Regions from separate parts of the Homo sapiens genome. Here regions 2 and 3 are each linked to region 1. The links are contacts of gene promoters, found by promoter capture Hi-C in blood cells and fetal thymus (Javierre and others, 2016). All regions are on one chromosome and are shown on one strand. The core of a region is centred on a gene start or on the middle of the fragment in contact, and the rest is flanking DNA. Distances in the headings are between cores, read along the strand shown.

What was found. Contacts are between HindIII fragments. The CHiCAGO score rates a contact against its expected background, and 5 or more counts as called.
Region 2: a fragment that was not itself captured here is called in contact with the fragment with the promoter of ING5 in region 1 in 1 of 17 cell types (neutrophils); the score reaches 6.8 in neutrophils.
Region 3: a contact is called between a fragment that was not itself captured here and the fragment with the promoter of ING5 in region 1, in 1 of 17 cell types (neutrophils). The highest score is 5.7, in neutrophils.

What each region holds. Positions count from the first base shown.
Region 1 is chr2:241,700,725-241,704,579 of GRCh38, reverse strand. It overlaps ING5 (inhibitor of growth family member 5), which reads right to left and starts at 2,541. Exons shown (of 8, transcript NM_032329.6): 1 at 2,478-2,541. The coding sequence starts at 2,514. RefSeq lists enhancers at 1,423-2,052, 2,291-3,123 and silencers at 1,778-2,337, 2,522-2,685, 2,428-3,247. The HindIII fragment of the contact is 17,390 bases long and covers 1-3,855 here.
Region 2 is chr2:241,136,967-241,140,742 of GRCh38, reverse strand. It overlaps PASK (PAS domain containing serine/threonine kinase), which reads left to right. Exons shown (of 18, transcript NM_015148.4): 3 at 1-222; 4 at 688-858; 5 at 1,949-2,089; 6 at 2,656-2,790; 7 at 3,479-3,739. Among named protein-coding and RNA genes, the nearest start is that of PASK, 11 kb to the left of the region's middle. RefSeq lists an enhancer at 389-889. The HindIII fragment of the contact is 1,882 bases long and covers 712-2,593 here.
Region 3 is chr2:241,104,394-241,108,073 of GRCh38, reverse strand. PASK (PAS domain containing serine/threonine kinase) reads left to right here. Exons shown (of 18, transcript NM_015148.4): 17 at 575-721; 18 at 1,351-1,975. The coding sequence ends at 1,508. Among named protein-coding and RNA genes, the nearest start is that of MTERF4, 3.9 kb to the right of the region's middle. The HindIII fragment of the contact is 1,768 bases long and covers 385-2,152 here.

The sequences.
Region 1 (3,855 bases), core at 1,292-3,791:
CTTTTTTTTTTGAGATGGAGTTTCACTCTTGTTGCCCAGGCTGGAGTGCAGTGGTGCGATCTTGGCTCACTGCAACCTACACCTCCCAGGTTCAAGTGATTCTCACGCCTCCGCCTCCTGAGTAGCTGGGATTACAGGCACATGCCACCATGCCCGGCTAGTTTTTGTATTTTTAGTTGAGACGGGGTTTCACAAGGTTGGCCAGGCTTGTCTCGAACTCCTGACCTCAGGTGATCCGCCCACCTCGGCCTCTCAAAGTGCTGGGATTACAGGTGTGAGCCACCAGGACTGGCCAAAAGTTTTATACTTCAAGTCTACAAGCCCACTCTGTATTCTGTCTCTGTCAGGGTTTGCGGAGCGGAAGGACTGTGATCTCATTTTTAGATGCAGGTACCAAACAGTGCTGACAAGAGGCTGTGTGCACACTTCGGAAGCTGTCAGAAGTCAAAGAAGGGAGAGGGAAACTTGGAAACCAACAGCACAGGCAGGGGAGGCCAACTGACCCCACCCTCTAGGCTGCCCCCCCTCAGTGAGCAGCATCTTCCAAGGCTCAAGCCAAAATCCCCTGGGTCCTCCTTGATCTTCCCCTACTTTACCCAGAAATCCAGTGCATTGAGCAGTGTAGCCACGCTGCCCACGCGACTTTATGCAAGGATAGAAATGTTTCCTCTCTCGGATGGGCGTGGTGGCTCATACCTGTAATCCCAGCACTTTGGGAGATCAAGACAGGCAAATCAGTTGAGGTCAGGAGTTCAAGACCAGCCTGGCCAACATGGTGAAACCCTGTCTCTACTAAAAATACAAAAATTATCCAGGCGTGGTGGTGCACAGCTACAGTCCCAGCTACTCGAGAGGCTAGGGCATGAGAATTGCTTGAACCTGGGAGGTGGAGGTTGCAGTGTGCTGAGATCATACCCTCCAACCTGGGCAACAGGGTGAGACTCCATTTCAAAAAAAATCAAAAAAAGAAAAAGAAAAGAAATGTTCTCTCTGAGCTGCCCAAGACAGTGGTGGCCATAGGGAGCTACTGAGCACTGGAAATGGGACTAACGCCATTCAATTTTTAATTTTACTTAAATAGTCCCTGTGGCTAGCGCAACCATTCCCCACAGTCTGCCAGGAGGACCCCCGTGCTGCTTTCGCGTCTGCTTTGTTACCCCCTAGACCAGGCCAACCTCCGCCCCCTGCACAGCTGACACAGGCTCCTAAGGGGGGCTGCCTCCTCCAGTCTTGGCCACCCTCCCATCTGCTGTTCACAGTTACCAGGCAATCATTTTAAACCTAACTCTATCTTATGCATCTGATGCTTCCAGCCCCAGTGTTTTCCCAGCTCCCCTAGAGGACAGAGGCACAGCCTCCCGGCTGGCACAGCCTCCCAGACACACACAAAGTCAACCCTCCTTGGGAGGCCAGCCCACTGGCTGGGCACCAGGATAGAGAAGGCCTCCCCTCCAGCGTGCTCCCCAGCTTGACTCTTCTACCCAGGGAACCCCCCACTACTCAGACCCCCAAGAGACAGCGGAGCACATGGGCAGAATCGGGCGTCCCTCTAGGGCAGCGGTCTCCAGCTCCAGGCCACGGCTCACTCGCCACTGTCTCAGCCCCTGGGCGGGTGCCAGGCCGAAGACCATGAGGATCCCCAGTGCAGCGCCCCCACAAGGGCCCTCCAGAGCCACCCGGCACAACCCCAAACACCGCGACCCCAAAGCTGTGCCCATCCCGGGCCGACGTCAGGGGTCCCGCGTGGGGTCTGCCCCTCTACGAGCGGGAGACCCTGAGCAGGCTGCTCGGCAGCGCTGGACCTTCCCTGGTGTGTAAAGTGAGGGAAAGCACCGTCCGCTCAGCCGCTGGGGGCGCCGACCTGCTGCCACCTGGAAACAGCACAGCCCGCCCACCAGGGCCGACTCGGCACCGCCCTCCCCGCCTCCGCGCCGCAGTCCCCAGTGCCGGGGAGAGACGCCCCGCGGCCCGCACGCCCTCCCCAGCCGCGGTCACACAAGAGGCCGGCGCACACGGGCGCACAGCCAGGCGGAGGCCCAGACCCCGGAGCCCCCAAGGCCCGGAGCCCCGCAGCGGGCGCCAGCTCCTCCTGCAGACGGGACAGGGACGGGCGGGACCTGGCGGGGCCGGGGCCGGAGCTGGGGGCGGAGATGAGGCGGGGCCTGGGTAGGGGCGGGACCTAATATGTGGGCGGGGTCGAGGCCGCAAGCCCCGCCCAGCATCGCCAGGCCCCGCCCCGCCGTGACGCACCTGGAATTGGCGCGACCCAGCCGGCGGGACCCCCCGCGCCCGCCCCCCGCGCCCTCCCCTCCCTTGCGGCCCTGCCCCGCCCCGTCCGCGCGCCCCCCGTCGCGCCCGGCCGCGCCCGCCGCCCTCCCGAGCCCACGGGGTCTGCATGCGGTGCCCGGCGCGCGGGGGGCTGCGGCACGGAGGACTCCGCGTGGGCGGCGGGCGCGGGGCCCGTGGGGCGCGCTTACTGTCCAGATAGTGCTCCAAGTACATGGCGGTCGCCATCTTCGTCCGCGGCCGCGCTCGGGGTCTGCGCGGGCGGGCGGTGCCGCGGGAGGCGGGGGCGGGGCGGTGCCAGCGCGCTCACTATTCATGAGTCGCGCGCGCTGATTGGTCGCGCCCGGGGGCGGGGTCGGACACGCCTTTCAGCTTCCGGCGGGCGGCGGGCTGCGGGGCCCGGGCGGAGGTTGTGGCAGCGGCGTCGGGCAGCGAGCAGGACCCAGGGCCGCAGCGGATCGGAGGCCGAGGAGGAGCAGGGGTTCCCGGCCCCACCGCCCGGCGTGCGGCCCAGGGCACCCAGGTGGGCGTCTCCCCTCCGCACCTGTCAGCGACCCCTGGGCCACCAAACGCAAACACGTGGTCCCGGGGACCTCACGCCCGTCCTGACGGCGCCCACGCGACCCCTGCTCCCGGCCGGGTCCCGGACAGGCCGCCACGAGGCCCTCCCTTCCCGAAGGCTCCTTGGGACCTGTCTGGCTCAGCGCCTTTCCCCCGGACCCCGAGCCCCCGGGGCCTCAGCCCGGCCTGAGCCGAGGGCCGGCACCGCGTGGCCCGGGCGAGCTGCCCCTCCCTCAGGGCCTGGGCCCTGGCGCCCTTCCCCCGCCAACGCCGCCCCTTCCCTCCGAGGAAAGCGGCCGCCCCGCCCAGCACCAGTGAGGGCACTGGCTCCTTTGCTGCCACCTCTCGAGGCAGGCAGGACCCGCACCATCTGGATGCCTTGGCCGAAAAGGCACGTGCGGCAGTATGATATAGTTAATAAGATGGCGTGCAAAGGTGTGCCGTAAGATGCATGCAAAAATACTGGAGAAGGCCGGCGCGCTGGCGCACGCCTGTAATCCCATCACTTTGGGAGGCCGAGGCGGGCGGATCACTTGAGGGCAGGAATTTGAGACCAGCCTGGCCAACGTGTTGAAACCCCGACTCTACTAAAAATACAAAAAAAAAAAAAAATTAGCCAAGCGTGGTGGCGCACGCCTGTAGTCCCAGCTACTCCGGAGGCTGAGCCCGGGAGGCGGAGGTTGTAGTGAGCTGAGATCGCGTCTGCACTCCAGCCTGGGCGACAGAGCAAGACTCTGTCTTCAAAAAAAAAAAAGAAAATTTTAAGAAAAAAAAAATACTGGAGAAACATAATTAAAATATGTTTCAGACTCGGCACGGTGGCTCACGCCTGTAATCCCAACACTTTGGGAGGCCGAGGCGGGCGGATCACTTGAGGGCAGGAATTTGAGACCAGCCTGGCCAACGTGGCGAAATCATGTCTCTACTAAAAATACAAAAATTACCCGGGCGTGGTGGCGGGCGCCTGTACTCCCAGCTACTCGGAGACTGAGGCAGGAAAATTACTTG
Region 2 (3,776 bases), core at 403-2,902, 560 kb after region 1:
AGCTCCTATTGTCTATCATCACTGGCTGCCCAGAATATTTGTACAAGTAAACTGCACTGCCCTGCTGCCCCTGAGCACACGGACCCGTCCGAACCGCGGGGCAGTGTGTCCTGCTGCTCCCTGCTGCGGGGACTGTCCTCAGGGTGGTCCTCACCTCTGCTTCCGGCCCCTGTGTGCAACCCTAACAAGGCCATCTTCACGGTGGATGCCAAGACCACAGAGGTATTTGCTTCTCTTTTAGATCCAGCTGTGTAGATGTGGATTTGTGGTTTGTGCCTTAAACCTGGGATTTGTGTGTTTTAATGCAATTAGAAAAACATTTGGGCACTTCGGGAGGTGGGAAGTTTGCTTGAGCCCAGGAGTTCAAGACCAGCCTGGGCAACATAGCAAGATCCCATCTCTACAAAGAAATTAGCCAGGTGCGGTGGCACACACCTGTAGTCCCAGCTACCAGGGAGGCTGAGGCAGGAGGATCACTTGAACCCAGGAGTTCAAGGTTGCAGTGAGCTCTGATTGCGCCGCTGCAGTGAGCTCTGATTGCGCCACTGCACTCCAGCCTGGGCAACAGAGTGAGACCCTGTCTGTCAGGAAAAGGCTGGCTTCTGCATGGTCGTCCTGGGCTGTTCTGGGCAGCTGGTGGAGCTGCTGGGGATGTCTGCATCCTTGCTCCTCTTTGTGATTCCTCAGATCCTGGTTGCTAACGACAAAGCTTGCGGGCTCCTGGGGTACAGCAGCCAGGACCTGATTGGCCAGAAGCTCACGCAGTTCTTTCTGAGGTCAGATTCTGATGTGGTGGAGGCCCTCAGCGAGGAGCACATGGAGGCCGACGGCCACGCTGCGGTGGTGTTTGGCACGGTGGTGAGTGGATGCGGGTGCAGCGTTCAGTCTGGCCTCAAGACCAGCAGTGTGTGGCAGGAACAGCTCAGTGTTCCCTACCAGGAGCTCTGCTGGGGGTTGGGTGGCACCAGGACATCTCAGCTTCTTCAGCTGAAAATGTCATCCCAGGCGCCGTTTCCCCGCTTCAGCTGCAGTGGGGGTGGGGGCCCTTTAAGAACGAATCATCGCAGGAATGGACACTGTGGCTGTGGCTGGACTCCTGGGAGGTGTCGTGGGTGGCCCTTGCTTTGTCTGAGGGCTGTAGCTTCACTAATGTTTTGCAGTCCTGCCGGGCAGCACATCAGATGCTCAAGAGTAATATGGTTTTATTGTCTATTGATTTTTACATTCTGTTTGGTGTTTGTGGGAGCGGGCGGGGGTGTTGGCCTGGAAGCATTTCCCTAGACAGTGTTGATTCTCTCACCTGTGCCATGTGTCCAACCTGGATGTTGACAGGTGAGCTGAGTTGGATGTGGAGGACTGAGCCCAAGGCATGGAAAAAGCCCAAGGCATGGCTGATTGTAGGGTTTCCCCTCGTCAGCCGGTCGGGGACTGGGGGAGTAGCGTTGGAGGGCAGTGGAGGTTGGGGTATGATCTGAGGCTCTAGTAGTCATCCAGATCCTCCAGGTTGCCTGTTTCCCACCTAGTGTGTGGCTTTCACACAGAAGACCCCATTGCTTGAACTGAACTGATGTCACAGGCTTAGGACCAATTGTATCAGAAAATCACTGGTTCAAGAAACTGACTACTAAGAAGAAAAAAACTAAGATATTCACCATGTGTTGGTGTCTGTTTCTTTAAGAAATAACAGATACTGCTTTTTTCACCCTGCAATATTACCATGAACTGAGAATGAAATCTACTCTCTTGATAAAACTTGCACTTGGAGATTTTAATGTTCAGTATGGGAAATCTTGTTTGTGCTTTGGTAAATTTCTGAAATGAAAATCAGGTAAGCAGAAGTTGAAAACGTTGCAGTGCCTGGAGTTTGGGCCTCCTGGAGGCAGGTGCCCCACCCATACTGGTCTTTTGGGTTCATGGCATGCAGGTGTGAACCTGTCTGTTTCCACAGGTGGACATCATCAGCCGTAGTGGGGAGAAGATTCCAGTGTCTGTGTGGATGAAGAGGATGCGGCAGGAGCGCCGCCTATGCTGCGTGGTGGTCCTGGAGCCCGTGGAGAGGGTCTCGACCTGGGTCGCTTTCCAGAGCGATGTGAGTGTGCAACTTTGCCTCATGTCTCATGGACGCTGGAGCCGGCGTCGTTCTCCTCTTCAGCAAGTGCTGGTCCCTGTCTCATTCCTTTGGGAAGAAAGAGAGGATGAGGAGCCTGGAGGGTCTGCCCAGTGGTACCCTCGCTGATTGCGTGTGCTTGGGCAGGGAACGAACTTCCTATACTTCAGTTCCTCACCTGTGAACTGGGGCATAATCATAACTCCTCATAAGATTGTTTCAACATTTAAATGAGATAATATATGTAAACCCCCCAGGATAGTAGCTGGCATTAGAGACAGCCCTCATATGTGAACTGGGATGTTATTAATGAGCTGTGGTGTGGGCCAGGCTCCTGAAGAACAAGAAGGCCCACAATTTAGGTACGTCTCTGGTAGAAGGAGACAGATGATGAAGCTCTTATCAAATTCATGTGTATATGTCTCTTGCCCTTCCGATGGAGAAGTCATGTTGGGGTCTTGCTTTTGGCTTGAACATATTGAAGCTTAGTTAAATTTACAGCTGGAGCACAAGAAGCTTTTATGATAAGCACGGGGCTTTTCCTCCAGGGCACCGTCACGTCATGTGACAGTCTCTTTGCTCATCTTCACGGGTACGTGTCTGGGGAGGACGTGGCTGGGCAGCATATCACAGACCTGATCCCTTCTGTGCAGCTCCCTCCTTCTGGCCAGCACATCCCAAAGGTAGGGCTCCTGACCTCCCGCACTGTGTGATGGGGTGGAGTTCTTAGCTCTGAATCCATAACTGGAGACGCAGACCAAGGGTTTCTGAAGGCAAGGGTGGCCTTAGGGGTGGGACATGCTCAGTTTTGAGCTTCCTGTGCGCTGAGGCCTTGACCAAGGGCCGGAGCCTATGTGGTCTCCCAGCTGACCACTCTTGTCCCCTGAGTCTTCTCCCAGGAGCTGGGCCACCCACAGAGGTGGATGCTGGGACGCTGCCCAAGGCTGAGGGGTGGGAGGTAACATCCACAGCTGCGCAGCTGGTGTAGTGCTGCCTGTGGGGCCAGTATCCTGGTGCCAGATCAAGGATGGCACAGTTGCCAGTGGCGTGGCTGAGCCCCGAGCCTGAGCCCCACAGTCCTCCCTCCCTCCCTCCCTGCTGGTGCCCGGCCCCTCACTGGGGTGTCTCACTTGCCCTGGGGTTGCTGTGCCTGGGGCGGCTCTGGACACTGAGTCCTCCCCACCCACAGAAGGGCTCTTTCCTGGGCCAGCTGGGCCTGGGAGGAGAGGGAAGGCAGAGCAGTGTGGGTGTGAGATGTCCTGGGGACCTTCCCCGATGACGTGGGGTAGAAGTCGGGTCGGACGCAGCACAGACTCAGTGCTCTGTCCACGTGAAACACGGCTTAAGCCAAACGACAAGCCTTTCTTTCAGAATCTCAAGATTCAGAGGTCTGTTGGAAGAGCCAGGGACGGTACCACCTTCCCTCTGAGCTTAAAGCTGAAATCCCAACCCAGCAGCGAGGAGGCGACCACCGGTGAGGCGGCCCCTGTGAGCGGCTACCGGGCATCTGTCTGGGTGTTCTGCACCATCAGTGGCCTCATCACCCTCCTGCCGGATGGGACCATCCACGGCATCAACCACAGCTTCGCGCTGACACTGTTTGGTTACGGAAAGACGGAGCTCCTGGGCAAGGTGGGGCTGCCCTGGGCGCCTGGCTCCCGTTCCCTGG
Region 3 (3,680 bases), core at 19-2,518, 600 kb after region 1:
TCCATATCAACAGTCTCATTTGTTTCTTTTCTATTCATCAAATAATTTGCATATGACTTTAAAACATCTTGATAATTTAGTTTTTGTTAATGTTCCTCTTTGGATCTTAGAGGCCCTCTTGTGAGAAACACACTTGCAGTCAGGACAGGGAGGCTCCAAGTGGCCCTGTTGACTTGGTGCCTACATGGTTAAAGGAACTGGGGCCCGAATCCAGATGCAAGGCTGGGGGCTTCTCTCAGCTTGTGCTGGCATCCCCTCACCTGTCATGTTAACCCTGCGTTATTCACAGCTCTGCATTGCCAGAGCCCCTGAGAATAGAGCAGTTAGGAACCTCTGCACCACCTGGATTTTGGTTGAGTGGGATGGCATCTTGAACTCCAAGCTTTCATTTCAGAGGCAATGAATGTTTCCTGCAGCTTCTGTCCAAGCACAGCTGGGCCCTGCACTAGAGGTTCCTGGGCCGCCACCTGCCCAGTCAGAGGCTCTGCGGGGGGGTGGTGAGCACCCAGGAATCTGAGATGTGCTCCACTTCATCCCAATCTGGACCTACCATCTGTGTTCTTTGTGTCCCCAGAACTCATGAGCCTTGTGTCTGGGCTGCTGCAGCCAGTCCCTGAGAGACGCACCACCTTGGAGAAGCTGGTGACAGACCCGTGGGTAACACAGCCTGTGAATCTTGCTGACTATACATGGGAAGAGGTGTTTCGAGTAAACAAGCCAGGTGAGGCTTCTCAGCATCCCTCCACCCCACATGACTTCACTTGGAATAACGAGGTCCCCAGGCTGCCTTCCTAGGTCAAAAGGAGGAAAAGGAGGCTCTCTCCCCCATGCTGTCTTGGACACAAATGTCAGGGCCTATAGCTGACCTGTCACCTGTGAGAGGGGGTTTGATTCTGTCCCGAGGCCTCTGGACACCACTGGGGTTCAGGGTGTGGCTTTGGACCTTGGAGGGTGGGCAGGTGTCATGGGAGCTCCTGGCAGAAGGGGTCGGAACCCTCAAAGATGGTTTGAGGAATGCAGCTGGTGATGGTCTGACTGGGCCGAAGGGGAGGATGAGGCCACAGATGCTGAGAGTGATTCTCTAGCAGCCGGCGGGGCCGAGGGCTCTTCAGACAAGGCTCTGGCCACAGAGCCAAAACCACTGCTCAGAGCATTTGGACCAAGCTGCGGTTGATGGCCCTGGGCTTAGATCCCCACCTTGGCAGGATCTGTACTTCCGGGACATTGCCAGTTGGATTTCTGAGGGCCTCACCTTAGGCTTTTGTTCTAGGACTTCTTCAAGTGAGAAGCAAAGTATTTTAGAACCTTAAGTTGTTAGCACGTGATACAGTTACCTTCTTGTTTCTTCAGAAAGTGGAGTTCTGTCCGCTGCGAGCCTGGAGATGGGGAACAGGAGCCTGAGTGATGTGGCCCAGGCTCAGGAGCTTTGTGGGGGCCCCGTTCCAGGCGAGGCTCCTAATGGCCAAGGCTGTTTGCATCCCGGGGATCCCCGTCTGCTGACCAGCTAAACACCAATTTCTTCCTGCTTTTCTCCACTTGGTTTGGAAAATCACACAGTTTTCAGGCTCCATCTGTTTGGAGAAAATACATTCTGAAGCATCCCCAATTCACCTTCTAAAAACTCATGTGCAGGTTTGATAAACACCAGAACAGAAGACAGTGATGCTGTATTATTTTAGATTTATTACATAGATTTGGAATTCACTTTTTTCATGACCTAGAAAAAAACATTCCAGTGTTCAACTGTTTTATATTATTAAAGGGCTTTTAATTTGTGAACTTCTGAAGGCATGAGTGTTTTCTCTTTCTACTTTTGTATATGTGCATGTTTTGTTTCCTCTGACTTGGTATATGCTCATCTGAGTGACGGATATGTGAAATTTGTAGAACTGGTTAGTCAAATGGCCAGACTATTTCATTAATTTATTTCCTCAAATGCTTTTCAAATTAAAGCACCTTTGTTAGTAAACAGTTATCCTGACTTGGATGTTGTGAACTGTTCCCGTGTGCTAAGTGTGAGAAATACCTGGTTTCCTCATTTTTCCATGTGTGCACCCCACTTGCCACAGTTGGAGAGAAGTCTAGCCTTGGCCATTCTGGGGTTCCTTTTACAAGCAGGCCCTGCCAGGGGTGGGCCTAGGGCTCTGAAGCTTGCTCCATCTGGTAAGACGGGGGAGGGTGGCTTCCTCAGGGACCTCCCTTCTGTCTGTAGCAAGACTCTGCTGTCAAACACGTGGCTGGCTCACTGCCAGCAGTCCCCAAATATCCCATGGCCAGCCAGCTCCCACCTCTGTCCACATGAGGGGCTTCCTGGCCCAGCCCCCACCTCTGGTCTGTGTGAGGGGCTCCAGCCCTGTATTCCTCCGAGCTGCTCAGGTTCCAGGGTGTTTGTCAGATACTCAACTGGCTGCTTCCCTCCCTTAGACTCCAGTCCATCCCCCTCAGACAGACTTGGCTAGGTCAAGTACTTAGGATTGTTTTATTTCATGTCTGTGTTAGAGAGGAGGGAATAGCTAGAGGTGAGAGCAGAACCTTTCATTTTTTTCCCCTGCTGAGACAGTAGGAAAAAAACCAAAAACCTAAACCCCTACCCTTTTCCCACATGTCATCACTTGCAGACGGTTTTTCCACATTCTGAGACTCCTGCCCAGAACCCTCTGGAAGCTGCCTGGGAGCCAGGCTGCCTCCTGCGTGGTTCTGAGCTATTTCTAGTGGTTATTTAGGAGGCACTCAACTGTTTTGGGATGATCAGAGTTAATTTTAGTCCCATCTAGTAGGATATGGGCTATTGCCATCCCTTTCTTCAGAAAGTGCTGCCTGAGCCTCGCTGCCACCACAAGTGACTGATGGAGTTGGTGGGGGAGGACCCTCCTCTATCAGGGACATTCAAGGTACAAGGGTTTTACAGGTGTGTATTAAAGTCAGTGATGTTCACTCTTCAGAATTCAAAGAGTTTTCTGATGTTTTAAGAACCCCTACCTTGTAGTGTTTATGGTGCTTATAACACAGAGGATGTTATAGAATGGTGTTTGTTTGTTTGTTTATTTATTTAGAGACAGAGTCTTATACTGTCGCCTGGGCTGGAGTGCAATGGTGCGATCTCAGCTCACTGCAACCTCCGCCTCCCAGGTTCAAGCAATTCTGCCTCAGCCTCCCAAGTAGCTGGGATTACAGGTGCCCACCACCACGCCTGGCTAAATTTTTGTATTTTTAGTAGAGACGAGGTTTCACTATGTTGGCCAGGCTGGTCTCAAACTCCTGACCTCATGATCCGCCCGCCTCGGCCTCCCAAAATGTTGGGATTACAGGCATGAGCCACTGCGTTCGGCCACAATGGTGTTTGCAGACAGGTGTTTAATGGGTTGAGAATGCATAGTCTGAGCTTTCTAAGAACTGTTACTTCTTTATAAGAAAAAATAATTAAAGCTCATCTGACTTCATGGCAGTGGAAGGTCTGGTATTTTGCAAACGTTCTTTGCAGAAAGAACCCAGAGAGGAAAGTTCTGAGGCTGAGGCTGACAATTTTTCCACTCCATTTTTTTTTTTTTTTTTAAGATGGAATCTTGCTCTGTCACCCAGGCTGGAGTGCAATGGTGCAATCTCGGCTCACTGCAACCTCCGTTCCCTGGGTTCAAGCAATTCTCCTGCCTCAGCCTCCCGAGTAGCTGGGATTACAAGTG